Regions from separate parts of the Homo sapiens genome. Here region 1 is linked to region 2. The links are contacts of gene promoters, found by promoter capture Hi-C in human tissues and cell types (Jung and others, 2019). All regions are on one chromosome and are shown on one strand. Each heading gives the region's core, a stretch centred on a gene start or on the middle of the fragment in contact. The rest is flanking DNA. Distances are from core to core; before and after follow the strand shown.

Region 1 (7,171 bases), core at 4,524-7,023, 40 kb before region 2:
ATGTTGGTCAGGCTGGTCTCAAACTCCTGACCTCAGGTGATCTGCCCACCTCGGCCTCCCAAAATGCTGAGATTACAGGTGTGAGCCACTGCGCCCGGCCTCAAATAATATTTTTTAACTTAACCCAATATATCTAAAATATCATTTCAGCATGTGGCACTAGCCACATTCCAGGTGCCCTGAAGCCACATGTGGCAGGAGCTACCGCACCGGGCCAGCAGAGATCTGGAATGAGAAGCCCACAGGATAGGAGCTTCTGCCCCGACCCCTGCCCCCTCCCTGTGATAGTGAGGAGGGACCTCTGGAGGCAGAAGGTGAAGTGAGCCCCTGAGAAATACAGGGCAGAGCCCCCCTTTTGCTGGGGGTGGGAGCAACTTTCTGGCCTCTGAGGCATTACAGTGCCCCAGCAGGGGCTCTCTGGGGGAGGCAGACTAATGACCACTTCGCCAGGATAGGGGCCGGGCTGGGGCAGACACTGAGCTCTCCTTTCCAGAGTCTCCTGGCAACTAGAGCAGCTGGTTTGGAGGGAAGAGCCTGACAGCTGGGCTTGGGTACTTCTCATTCCCAGTCAGTGCCTAGTCTTCTGGCTGTAGCATCTAAGGTAAGGCCCCTCTTGGAACTGCACCATCACTCAAATGGGAATAGCTGTGATCAACCCTGCTTTAAAGGCTGTAAAAAGGTTTCTTATACAAAGACAGTATGCTTGTAAGCCATGAACGTGCGCGAGGAAAAGAGAAAGTGAGGAGGGAGGGAGGGAGCCCCTTTTGAGGCCGCCCCTCCCTTGGTTGGCTATTGCTGGCTGTACTCCCAGAGTCTGCAGGGGCCCTCCAACTTCAGTGGGAGGCTGGAGAAAGAGGGTAGGATGGGCGGCCCAGAAAGGGTGTGATTTTCTGAGAGCCACACAGCACATCCAGCAGTGGGTGAGCTGGACACGCTGGGGTGGGGCCAGGATACCCAGGACCTCCTTCTCAGCTGCTCTAGGCGCGAGGGTTTGTGGGAAGGAGTGGACAGGGCTATTTCAGGGCAATGCAAAGGCAGCCGAGTGCTGGCTGGGAGGCCCTCGTGGGTCTAGTCTGACATTTTCTGCTGATGCTGGGAGCCAGGGAAGGGGACCTGGAAACCTGAATCTCACACCTGGGCCAGCTGATCTTGTGCCCAAGTGGTCCCAGCCCCTACTTCCCACTGGTCTTCCCTGTCCTAGCTGCACAATTGCCCTGCCTGGGGAGGAGTGTGGAGAGAAGCACCAGGCTACCCCAGGACCAAGCCCCCAGCCCACCTGCCAGGTCCCGAGAGCCACAGTGAGCCCTCAGTTATATCTTTGTTTTTGTTTTTGTTTTTGAGTTTCACTCTTTCCAGGCTGGAGTGAAGTGGCGCAATCTTGGCTCACTGCAACCTCCGCCCCCAGAATTCAACGATTCTCCTGCCTCAGCCTCCGGAGAAGCTGGATTATAGTCAAACCACCATACCCGCTAATTTTTGTATTTTTAGTAGAGACGGGGTTTTGCCATGTTGGCCAGGCTGGTCTTGAACTCCTGACCTCAGGTGATCAACCTGCCTCAGCCTCCCAAAGTGCTAGGATTACACTTTGAGGTGCCCAGCCCCTCAGTTATTTCTTTTGCAGACTGCAACTAAGGGATAGATCTGGGATTTAACTTTATTTATTTATTTATTTATTTATTTATTTATTTATTTATTTTTAGACAGGATCTCCCTCAGTCACCCAGGCTGGAGTGCAGTGGCACAAACATGGCTCATGGCAGCCTCAACATCCTGGGCTCAAGAGATCCTTCCACCTCAGCCTCCCAAGTAGCTGGGACCCTAGGCACGCAACACCACATCTAGCTAATTTTTTGTATTTTTGGTAGAGACCAGATTTTGCCACGTTACCCAGGCTGGTCTCAAACTCCTGGGCTCAAATGATCTGCCTGCATCAGCCTCCCAAAGTGCTGGGATTATAGGTGTGAGCCACCTGGCCCAGCCTCTTCTTTTACTTATTTATGTATTTATTTTTACACAGGGTCTTGCTCTGTCACCCAGGATGGAGTACAGTGGCATGGTCATAGCTCACTGCAGTCTACAACTGCTGGACTCAAGTGATCCTCCCTCCTCAGCCTTGCAAGTAACTAGGACTACAGGTGCATGCACCTGTAGTGCATTAGCACAGCGAGCTAATTTTTTTTCTTTTTTTGTGCAGATGGGGCTTCTCAATGTTGCCCAGGCTGACCTTGGACTCCTGGCCTCAAGTAATTCTCCCACCTCTGCCTCCCAAAGTGTTGTGATGACAGGTGTGAGCCACTGCACTTGGCCTTTCTTTTTTTTTGAAACGGAGTTTTGCTCTTGTTGCCCAGGCTAGAGTGCAATGGCACAATCTCGGCTCACTGCAACCTCCCCCCTCCCAGGTTCAAGCGATCCTCCTGCCTCAGCCTCCTGAGTAGCTGGGATTACAGGCATGCACCACCATGCTTGCCTACTTTTGTATTTTTTAGTAGAGACAGGGTTTCTCCATGTTGGTCAGGCTGGTCTCGAACTCCCAACCTCAAGTGATCCGCCCGCCTTGGCCTCCCAAAATGCTGGGATTACAGGCATGAGCCACCGCGCCCGGCCTTTCTTTCTTTCTTCTTCTTCTTCTTCTTTTTTTTTTTTTTTTTTTTTGAGATAGAGTCTTACTCTGTTGCCCAGGCCAGAGTGCAGTGGCATAATCTTGGCTCACCACAACCTCCACCTCCCAGGTTCAAGCGATTCTCCTGCCTCGGCCTCCCGGGTAGCTGGGACTACAGGCATGTGCCACCATGCCCAGCTAATTTTTGTATTTTTAGTAGAGACAGGGTTTCGCTATGTTGGCCAGGCTGGTCTTGAACTCCTGACCTCGTGATCTGCCTGCCTCAGCCTCCCAAAGTGCTGGGATGACAGGTGTGAGTCACCACACCTGCCATTTCTTTCTTCTTGTTTCAGGTTTCTTCCTTCTTGGTTCCATCCTACAAAGAACTGTTTCCATAGACATCCTCTCTGTACAGCTACTTTCAGCCTATTCTTCCCAGTTAGAGACTTACAGTGATTCCTAGTGTCTACCAAATTCCCTTTCAAACTCCTTGGTTTGGGATTCCAAGAGCCCTTCACCATCAAGCTCTTTCCACCTGACACAAACAGTAACCTTGTTTCCGGCCCAACTTGCTGTGCCAACTGGCCCTGCCTAAGGCTGTCCAGCCTCTCTGCCTTTGCCTGGGCCGCTTCTCCTCCTGCAACATCCTTCTTCCTCTCCACACCCAATTCTGCTGATTGAAATCCATCCATTCTGAAAGACCTGGCTCAAATGCCACCTCTTCTGGGAGGAATCCTTACCAGGTAGCCTCATCAGAAATGCTTGCCCTCCTCTGATCCATCTCCCGTAGCCCCTTGCATGTCCCAGGCCCTGGATCTTTCTCTCTCACAGCCTCAGACTCCCGGTAAGCCTCTGGAAATGGAAGCCCCTGGAGGGCAGAGCTATCCCAGCTGTCCATGAGTCCTCTCGGAACCCATTTCCCACCATTGCACTTCCTGCCCTGCTCGCTCCCCACCCCAAGGTAACACCAAGGTCGGATGTGAGAAAAAAATAGATGAAACAAGATTTTGCACATCACATTGTAAAACCCGCTCAGGCGCTCCCCTCCTCCCAATATTCTTACTGGACTCCCGCCTACCCTTGGCTCTGGTCCCTCTGGCTCCTCCCCATCCACCCAGTCCAGATGTCCAAGCCTGAGCAGCTCACCTGGAGAGACACCGTGTCTCTGTCTCCATCTCTTAGTCTGGGTCTCTGTCTGTGCTGCCAGTAGACCTCTGGCCTCCCCCATCAGACTGGGATCACTGGGAATGTGAGGACCTACCTTTTTTTGTCTTTGTCTCCTTTTCCCATCCCATTCAGTGGAGGATTTCAAAAAGCTTTGGAGACACACTTAACAAGATAAAAAATGAGAGAGGAAGCTGGAGGTGGGAGAGGTCCTGCTTCCTCCTCCCCCAGCCTCGGTCTCTGGCACCTTGCCAAGGTCACCTTTCAGAGCAACCTATCACGGGCCTTTGTCAGGATCATTCATCCTCCTTTCCAGCGCCCTCCGCCCTTGCCAACCCACCAGACTCTGTTGCCACTCCAGGCCCTGCCGCCACTCCAGGCCCTGCCAGCCCCAGCTCGCCTTACCAGTCCCTCACGCTCCAACTCTCTCCCTCTCCCCCCCATCTGCAACCACAGCACATCACAGCTGTCTGATTAGCTCAATTGATTAATTAAGCTCTAATGAGAGCCGTGACTCACCCCTACAGCTGCTGACCAGGAGGCCAGCCGTGCCCAGAAGGCCACTGAGGCTGCAGACATGGTCTTATGAGGGCCCAGGGGCAGGCAGCTCAGTGGTTGGTACCACTGAGCCATTTGCAGGGCACAAAGCTTGCCCATGGCTAGGTCTCTCCAAAAGCCTCCATGGTGAGGGGTGGGCAGAGGGGTTGCTCCCTCAACCAATCAGTGAGTTCCAGGATCTGGCACCAACTCTGCTGAAGTCAGGGAGGGCAGAGCAGACATTGATTGGCTGAGAGGTGCAGGGAGGGGAGTAGATCCCTTCAGAGTCCCACCTTGACTCCTGGGGCTTAGCATGCCCCAGGCCCAGAGGATAGTGAGCGTGGGGAAGCTGGGCACTGGCCAGAGGAACCAGACTTAGCCCTGCCAGCAGCCACCAACCCTGTGGTTTCTTTGCTCTGTCGCCCAGGCTGGAGTGCAATGCTGCGATCTTGGCTTACTGCAACCTCCATCTCCCAGGTTCAGTCGATCCTCCTGCCTCAGCCTCCCGAGTAGCTGGGATTACAGGCACGCGCCACCATGCCCAGCTGGTTTTTATTTTTAGTAGAGATGGGGTTTCACCATGTTGGCCAGGCTGGTCTCGAACTCATGACCTCAGGTGATCCACCTGCCTCAGCCTCCCAAAGTGCTAGGATTACAGGTGTGAACCACCGCACCCGGCCAAACCCTATGGTTTCTTCCATCCCCACAACTCCCAGCCATGTGGTGAGAAAACGCCCCCATCCAGCTGCTGGCTTCCAGTCTCGAATAGCCACAAGGACTCTGCAGAGCAAGTCCTCGATTCCCATTCCTCCCACCTCCGGCCTCCCTCACCACCCCGACCACTGACCCACCCCGCCCCCAGACTCTGTCCCTTGTCTAGGATAGGGGACAAATGCCCTCCATTAGCAACAATCATTGGCTGGGCACAATGGGTCACTCCTGTAATTCCAGCACTTAATCACGCCTTAATCCTCAACCTTGGGAGGCTGAGGTGGGAGGATCACTTGAGGCCAGTAGTTTGAGACCAGCCCAGGCAACATAGCAAGACCCCTGTCTCTACACAAAATTTTAAGAAAGAAAATTAGCCAGGTAAGGTTGCTCACGTTTGTAATCCCAGCTACTGGGGAAGCTGAGGCAGGAGGATTGCTTGAGCCCAGGAGTTCGAGGCTGCAGTGAGCTGTGATTACACCACTGCACTCCAGCCTTGACAAGGGTAGAATCTTGTCTCAAAAAAAACAAAAAACGATCATCAGTTAAGTGGGATTTTCCATCTTACAGACACCTCCATGTTCGTTCTTCCCCAGAATCTCACGAGGCAAACTGAGCCAGGAGTTCATTCTAGAGATGAGGAAACTGAGACCTCAACTTGCCCAAGATCACACCCGGGCGTTTCCTGCTTCCCAGCCTTTGCATTTGTCTTGAGTCACGCACTTCTCTTCAGCTTTGAGACGTCAGCTTAGAGGTCACTTCAGCCAGGATGCCCCGTCCCCCAGCTGCAGGTGAGGGCCCCCTCTTGTTGTGTTAACTTGCTCACCTCTGCCACGGGCCTGTGAGCACAGCTGCCGCTCTGTCTATACCTCCCGATTGCGGGAGGATCCTGCTCAGGGCCTCACAGGCAGTAGGGACATAAAGAATATTTAGAGTGGAGGAAAGAAAGGGAGGAGGGAAGAAATGAATGAGCCACACATGGCAGATAGTCTGAGCCCCCAGTCAAATGCTGAGAGGGAGGACATGGTGGAGGACCAAGCAGGGCTGCCCAGTCTGGTCATGTCAGCTGTTGATGTGCAGGGAGCCCCTGCTGCACAGCCCGCTGGCCCAGAGATCATGCAGGTAGTCACTTCCCCTCCCTGCTGCAGAGAGGTTAGGGTGGGACCAGGAAATCCTGGGAGATGGTGGAGGAAGATGGGCAGAGCAGGAGAGAGTGGGGAGGGCCTGGGAGTCAGGAAACCTGAAGTGGAGATTAAAGCAGTGGCTGGGTCAGGCACAGTGGCTCACATCTGTGATCCCAGCACTTTGGGAGGCTGAGGCAGGTGGATCACCTGAGATCAGGAGTTTGAGACAAGCCTGGTCAACATGGTGGAAACCCGTCTCTACTAAAAATACAAAAATTAGCTGGGTGTGGTGGCATGCGCCTGTAATTCCAACTACTTGGGAGGCTGAGGCAGGAGAATCACTTGAACCCGGGAAGCAGAGGTTGCAGTGAGCTGAGATCGTGCCACTGCACTCCAGCCTGGGCGACAGAGCAAAATTCTGTCAAAAAAAAAAACAAAAAAAACAGTGGCTGGAGAGTCCGAGACCTGGGTTGGAGTCCTGGCTTTGCTTGACCTCTCTGGGTGACTGTGGGCATGTGGCCTCCCCAGTCTGGCCTGTGAACCGAGAAAGTCTGATGGCATGGGCTCTGGGCCTGTTCTCCTGTTGAAGTCTGGGAGTTCTGTAGCCCCAAGAGACATCTGTTACTAGAGGGAGGGAGTGAAATGGAGATGGACAGTAGGAGGGGGTTGCAACACCTATTACCAATGGTGGGAGGGGTAATCACAGCCGGGAGCCTCTGGGCCCCACAAGGAGTCTCCACCACTCCCCCCAGCTCCTCTTCTGTCGCTGCCCCTCAGATTCAATTACCAGCTCAGCTTTCAAATCGGGCTCCAGCCAGTAACTTTACTGGAGAAAATTATTATGTGATTATTTCAACCTTGCTCCAAACGCTGTTTTAATTGGATCTGGGAAAAGGCGATTTGGGCATCAGAGGAGCCACGCGGGGGCGGGAGCAGCATAGGAATGTCAGGCAGGGGAGCCCCACCTGCCCATGAGGTTCGAAAGGCAGACAGGACTGCTTCCCAGCCCCCTACCTCTCCCCAGGCCCCCCACGTTCAT
Region 2 (6,956 bases), core at 3,936-6,435:
GGCGTGAGCCACTGCACCCAGCAGGGGATTATTTTTAATTTTTTATTTTTGAGACAGGGTCTCGCTCTGTTGCCCAGGCTGAAGTACAGTGGCACAAACATGGCTCACTGCAGTCTCAATCTCCTGAACTCAAGCGATCCTCCCACCTCAGCCTCCCAAGTCGCAGAGACTACAGGCCCGACTAATTTTTTATTTTTTGTAGAGATAGGGTTCTCACTATGTTGCCCAGGCTGGTCTCAAACTCCTGGACTCAAGCCATCCTCCCGCCTTTTGGCATCCCAAAGTGCTAGGATTGTAGGAGTGAGCCACTGTGTCCAGCCTGGGCAGGACATTCTTCATCTATGCGTCATTTGGACTTCGTAACACCTCCTACAAATTTCTACCCAAGCCTTAGATTCCTCAGCCATAAAATGGGGAAAATGATAGTACCTACCTCATGAGGTTAATACTAGTACGTGACATAAGCCATGTAATAGTTTTAAATCCATGATAATAGGTTAAGTGTAAATGAGATAATCCATAAAAGTGCTTAAGAACAGGATCTTGGCCAGGCGCGGTGGCTCATGCCTGTAATCCTAGCACTTTGGGAGGCCTATTGGGGGTGGATCACAAGGTCAGGAGATCGAGACCATCCTGGCTAACATAGTGAAACCCTGTTTCCACTAAAAATACAAAAAACTTAGCCAGGCATAGTGGCAGGCACCTGTAGTCCCAGCTACTCCGGAGGCCGAGGCAGGAGAATGGCGTGAACCCAGGAGGCAGAGCTTGCGGTCAGCCGAGATCGCACCACGGCACTCCAGCCTGGGCGACAGAGAGAGAATCCATCTAAGAAAAAAAAAAAGAACAGGATCTTGCACTTTGTAAGTGCTCAAAAACTGTTAGCTATGGTAATTATTGTGGCAAAGTATCCTATCTTTCTGCACGTGTCCCCCACCAAACAGTGAACTCCTCAGGGGCACCGCTCAGCCTTCCGGTCCTACTCATCTTGGGACACACCATCACCACCTAGCTAGGTGTTTTCACCCAGGCAGGACCTAGCTAGCTGTTTTCAGTAAATGTAAAAACAACTCAATGCAGATCCAGCAGCTGATGAGTCAGGGCACAGCACCCCCCTTCCTCACTCCCAAACCCAGACACACAGCAACATCAACAGCCTCTTACACATTCACACCCACTCACATTCATTCAAAGAACCCCAAAATACCACAGAACAGTCACTCAGTTCCTAAAGTCAGTGCCAGTCATGCCTGGGTAAAAAGCCTTACCTACGCTCTTCCCTGTACCTTCCACAATCTACCTCAATGCCTGGAATGACTGGGGCTGTCGGCACCACCCCCTCACTGTAGGAGTTCCTATGGTAGGGTCATTCCAGATGGGGGCTGTGGGAGTGACCCCTCACACTCATAGAAGTTCGGGAAGCAAAGTTAGACCTTCAGCCCCCCACTGACAGCATCCCAGCTACAGAGAGTGCAGCCGCCCTCCTTACCTTGAAACCCTCCCTCCCTTTTCGCTTCTGAAAACCTGAGTCCTGGCCCCGGCTGGGCAAGCTGGCTCAAGCCTGTAATCCCAGCAGGAAGCCCAGGCAGGCAGATCACCTGAGCTCAGGAGTTTGAGACCAGCCTGGCCAACATGGTGAAACCATGTCTGTACTAAAAATACAAAAATTAGCTGGGCATGGTGGCACGTGCCTGTAATCTCAGCTCTTCGGGAGGCTGAGGCAGAAGAATGGCTGGAACCTGGGAGGCGGAGTTGGGGTGAGCCGAGATCGCACGGTTGCACTCCAGCCTGGGCAACAAGGGCGAAACTCAGTCTCAAAAAAAAAAAAAAGAAAGAAAGAAAAAAAAGAAAACCTGAGTCCTTGTTCTTAGCAGGTGGTTGAAGAAGAGGCCTGGAAGCCGGAACTTCAGGGTTCTTCCCTCACTCATCCAGTTCCATCTCTGAACCTGGGAGCCTAGGTCCATTGTCCCCCTCTCCTAGTGTCAAGGACAGCAATGGGTAGGAAGCTGGCAGGACCAAGTAGACCCAAGGCCCGGGGGTCTCCTGAGAGGGCTTTCTTGGCCTTGAGGTGAAATAGTTATATTAGCTACCATTTACGAGGTGTATAATAAGGGTCAGATACTGAGCCCAGGACTTTACATACGTAATACATCATTTAATCCTCACAACCACCCTTTTACCAAAGGATGCCAGGGGCTGCTGGGTAGGCTATTTACCTAAAATCACCGGGTAGGATTGGCACGCAAGCCGTTTTAGTTTTTGTTCTTAATGAGACAGGGTCTTGCTCTGTCGCCCAGGCTGGAGTGCAGTGGCGCAATCTCAGCTTATTGCAGCCTCGACCTCCCAGGCTCAAGCGATCCTCCCGCCTCAGCCTCCTGAGTAGCTGGGACTACAGGTAAAAGCCACAACGCCAGGATCTCCCTATGCTGCCCAGGCTTGTTCGGAACTCCTGAGCTCAAGCGATCCTCGGGCCTCAACCTCCCAGAGTGCTGGGATTACAGACGTGAGCCACCGCGCCCGGCTGGCACTCAGGTCTTTAATTTCAGAATCTTCAACAGTCCAGCTTTAAACAATGTTGGGGGGCAGTATGGCGGATGGGGGGGTTGTGACTGTCTTCAGGTGTTAAGCTGGGAGATGCCCCTCAAGGCAGCACTCTCTCCCCAATCAGCCAAGCCCTCATCTCCCGGAAAGAGGGGCGCTGAGAGCAGGGGATGGGGGTGGAGGGTCGGGTAGGTGGTTAAGGGGTGCTTCTTTGGGGGCCTGGGCGGAGCCAGGGCGGGGCTTGGCGAGCCCAGGGGAGGCGCCAAGCCGGTGGCCCCAGCTCACAGGCCAAGATGGCTGTTAATTAAAGTGCTGGCACCAGCTCCTCTCTGCAAAGTTTGAAGCCGTTATTTTCCACTCCAGCGAAGCGGGGAGAATCCGGCTGGGCTGACGGAGACGCCACACCGCGCCAGGGGAGCAGGAGCTTTTTCGGAGCGGGAGGCGGGGCGCCGTGTGGCTGCGAGCGCGCCTCTTGGATGCCCCGGCCGGCGCGGGGGTGGGTGGGCGCTCCCGCCCCATCCTTGGCCCCGGGCGGCCAGCCGCGGTGTGCCCGGAGGGCTCTGCGAGGGCTGTGGGTGGCGGGCGAGCCCCAGCGGCGTAGCAGAGGAGGGGCCCCCGAGCGAGCGTACTAGGGAGAAGGGGGTCCGTGCAAATCCCAGGCTGACGACCGCGCACGCGCCCCTCGGGTCACCAGCCCTGTCGCTCTTGGTGGGGCACACCGAGGAGACCGCCGTGGGGAACCGGGGACCGGATTGCCTGACAGCCGAGCGCTGAAGACTACTCTTCCTGAGCCTAGGGAGGTCTGGCTGCCCTGAGCCCCCTACCCCTGGGCTTTGGGCAGTAAACGGTACCTAGAGACTCTATCGCGCTGAGGTTGGAAGAGCCTGGAGCCAGGCTACGAGTTTGAGTCCCGGCTCTCCCACTTATTAGTTGTGTGACTTTAAGCAAATCTCTTAACTTCCCAGAGCCTCAGTTCTCCATCTGTAAAATTAAAATAATCTTGGATTTTACTTCTTTGGACTGATGTGAAGATCAAGGGTGATCATGTATGTAAAACATTCAACACAGGGCCTAGCACAGAGTAAACCCTGAATAAATGCTACTTATTGAAAATTTTTTAGCTCCCTCCTTGGTGGTGGTGGGGTCACTCCAACCTGGCCTCAGCCATTAGTGCTTGGAGGGTCCTCTTTCACAGCCCCCTCGTTGGATGTCCCTGTGTCCTTCTACTCCCAGCCCTGGATGAGGTGAGCGACCTCAACCTTGGGTAGGGAAGGCCAGGGAATCATTTTGCCCATGGTGAAGGGTCAACAGGGAGAGTGTGAGCCGGCGGGGGGTAGCTCTCGGGAGAGGAGAGGCTGGGATGTCATTCTTTAGCAGCCGGCCAGTCGCCTCCGAATGGCTGAATCCTCCCCGGTGGGCCGGATAAAGGAGGGCGAAGGAGGAGCGGTGGAGCAGCCCGACCTGGGCCTCAGATAATGTGACAAATATTTTGATGGAAGCAGACACGTTTCGGTTTATGCAACCTAAACACTTTGCTGCACTTGAGGAAGAGGAGAGCCTCCCACAGCCTGATGGGGAGAAGAGTTAGGGGGCGGCGGAGGAGGCTGGGGAGTGAGGGAGGAGGAGCTGAGGGGCTGGATGAGATCCACCCCTCATCCTGGAGGCTGGAAAAGGGGGTTACCCCTCAGGGACGTATTTGCATCTGTCAGCATGGAGAAATAACGTGGGGGTGCCCACCTTTTTAGGATCCCCTTTTCTCCCTGGTCTAGAGGCAGAAGTAAAGGGATTGAGCAGAGGGAGATGGAAGAAAAGGGCCCAGGAAAAAGCAGCCTGGCCACAGTTCGGTGAGGAAGGGGCAGAGGCGAGGAGGGGTTGGAAGCTCCTGCCCCACCTCGGGGGAGACGGGTCCCGGAACAGTCAGATCCAGAAAGGAGGAGGCGGCTGCCGTCTGGCTCCGCTGGGCCCCCGGACAGGCATTCATCCGATATCTGGATCTCCCAGACGGGTGGTCTGCGAGGCCTGAGTGCCAAATGGTCCCCTCCGTATCCTCTTCTTCGCTTCATAACCCCCTTTCTCATCCTACCTTCCAGCTCCCCGCTCCGTCCTCCCCTCAATCGCTCTTTGTCCCCTGCAGACCTGGGCGCTATCCCCTCGCTTCCGCCCCCTGCGGGTCTTGGCCCGTCGCGACCCCAGTCCCTCTGTTTTCCTGGTGACCGACCCTCGAAGCCTCTCCTCTCCCGATCCCCTCGGAGCTCTCTAGCTCTCCCTGTGGCCCTCTCTCCCTTTCGCATTTTGGTCCCTACTCTCCCCTTCCCTTGGAGCGCCTCTCGGGTCTCTCGGACCCCGGCCCCCACCCCATTTCCGAATCTCGGTCTCCGCGTACTCAGTCTCTTCTTTCCTCTCCCTGCTCCCGCCCGGGGTCTCCGCGGCCCCGCCCCCTTATGCCCCGCCCACCTCGAGGCGCCCGCGGCCCAATTAGGCGCCGGCCCCGCCCGCAGCCCCACCCCTAGAGAGCCCAGAGCCGCGCGGAGCTGGCGGGGCGGGGCCCGGCCGAGGGGGCGGTGGCCCGGCTCAAGGAGGCGGGAGGAGTCAGGCGGGAGGCTGCAGGCGGGAGGCGGGAGGCGGGAGGCGGCGGCCGCGGCGCTCAGTCCGGCAGCGCAGCAGGAGGGAGGCGCGAGGCAGGAGCCGGCGGCTGGGCTCCGCAGCGCAGCCAGCGCAGCGCGGCGCCCCGGGCCCGGCCCCATGCCCGCAGCCCCGCCGGACCGTCCTTGAGCGCGGGCGCCTAGCCCGCGCCCCCTGCCCGCCGGCACCATTGCCCCGACGGCGCGGCCGGGCGGCCCGGCGCTCCCCAGGCTCCGCGCGGGCCGAAAGACGCTGCTAGCGGCCGCCGCGGGTGTGGTGATGCTGCTGGTGCTGGTGGTGCTCATCCCCGTGCTGGTGAGCTCGGGCGGCCCGGAAGGCCACTATGAGATGCTGGGCACCTGCCGCATGGTGTGCGACCCCTACCCCGCGCGGGGCCCCGGCGCCGGCGCGCGGACCGACGGCGGCGACGCCCTGAGCGAGCAGAGCGGCGCGCCCCCGCCTTCCACGCTGGTGCAGGGCCCCCAGGGGAAGCCGGGCCGCACCGGCAAGCCCGGCCCTCCGGGGCCTCCCGGGGACCCAGGTCCTCCCGGCCCTGTGGGGCCGCCGGGGGAGAAGGGTGAGCCAGGCAAGCCGGGCCCTCCGGGGCTGCCGGGCGCGGGGGGCAGCGGCGCCATCAGCACTGCCACCTACACCACGGTGCCGCGCGTGGCCTTCTACGCCGGCCTCAAGAACCCCCACGAGGGTTACGAGGTACTCAAGTTTGACGACGTGGTCACCAACCTAGGCAACAACTACGACGCGGCCAGCGGCAAGTTTACGTGCAACATTCCCGGCACCTACTTTTTCACCTACCATGTCCTCATGCGCGGCGGCGACGGCACCAGTATGTGGGCAGACCTCTGCAAGAATGGCCAGGTGGGCCAGGCGGGGGCATGGGGCTGGGCTGGGCCCAGGGCACCCAGGGAGCCCGGGGCAAATGGGTACCTGATCGGAGTTGGCGGGGGCGCCAGGCGGACGCAGGTGGAGATCCCACCCCACAGCGGCCCCGCTTGGTCATCACGTGTGGGGATGGTCGGAGCCAGCGGACATCGCCGATCCTCAGTTCCTGGGTTCCCGCTCCAAGACAGACGCTGCTGGGCACCGTCTGGAACGCTACTGGAAATGCGGGAAATGAACCCAACTAGTCAGAGCGCAGGGCTCCCAGGTGCACGGACTTGCCCTTGGGGGCTTGCCCCTTGGGAAGTGGATTCGGGCCGACAGCAGTGGGCGATAAGGGGAGGGCAAGGATGGGCTCTGGCGTATGGAACAGGGAGAAGCAGCATCCGCGCCCGCGGGCGCCTAGGCGCGTGGCCATGGGCGCGAGCGGAGAAGGCTGGCTGCAGGAAATGTTTGGGGCACAAAGGCAAAGGGAGCCCGGTGCTTACAGCCCTGGCTGCAGTGCCTCCCCTGCCCTGGAGAAGGGACCATTGGGCGAATCTGACACCCTTTGCAAAATCCGGGAGTTGGGGAGCTGTTTCCCACTGTAGCAGAGCTTCCCCAAAAAGAAGGCAGTCTGGGGGGCGGGGGAGTTTTTCCTCCTGAGGCGGGGAGGGGGTGGGGGGTGGGGGGTGGTGGAAGAGATGGAAACTCCCCCTCCTCTTGGTCTCCCAGCTCCAGCCCCTCCTGACTCTGGAGTGTGTGGGGTCCTCTCCATTCTCCGTCCCCATCTCAGACGCTGCAGCTGGAAAGCACTGAGTGTGTCGGGGACTCTGGTACCGGGACTCGCATGTGCGTGTAGCTCTCCTTGGAATGGCCGACCCCAGGACCAGCCTCCACCCAGCCCCGCCCTGGGGTGA

The links. Contacts are between HindIII fragments. The study calls those that stand out against the background at their distance.
Region 1: a contact is called between a fragment that was not itself captured here and the fragment with the promoter of C1QL1 in region 2, in 1 of the 25 tissues and cell types used here (mesenchymal stem cells).

The regions. Positions count from the first base shown.
Region 1 is chr17:45,006,917-45,014,087 of GRCh38, reverse strand. LOC107987243 (a long non-coding RNA gene) reads left to right here and starts at 87. Exons shown (of 6, transcript XR_007065771.1): 1 at 87-601; 2 at 5,605-5,799. RefSeq lists enhancers at 678-1,464, 5,453-5,953. The HindIII fragment of the contact is 3,219 bases long and covers 4,164-7,171 here.
Region 2 is chr17:44,966,532-44,973,487 of GRCh38, reverse strand. C1QL1 (complement C1q like 1) reads left to right here and starts at 5,185. Exons shown (of 2, transcript NM_006688.5): 1 at 5,185-6,036. The coding sequence starts at 5,440. It also overlaps the pseudogene LOC112268183. RefSeq lists silencers at 2,989-3,058, 4,895-5,254. The HindIII fragment of the contact is 17,092 bases long and covers 1-6,956 here.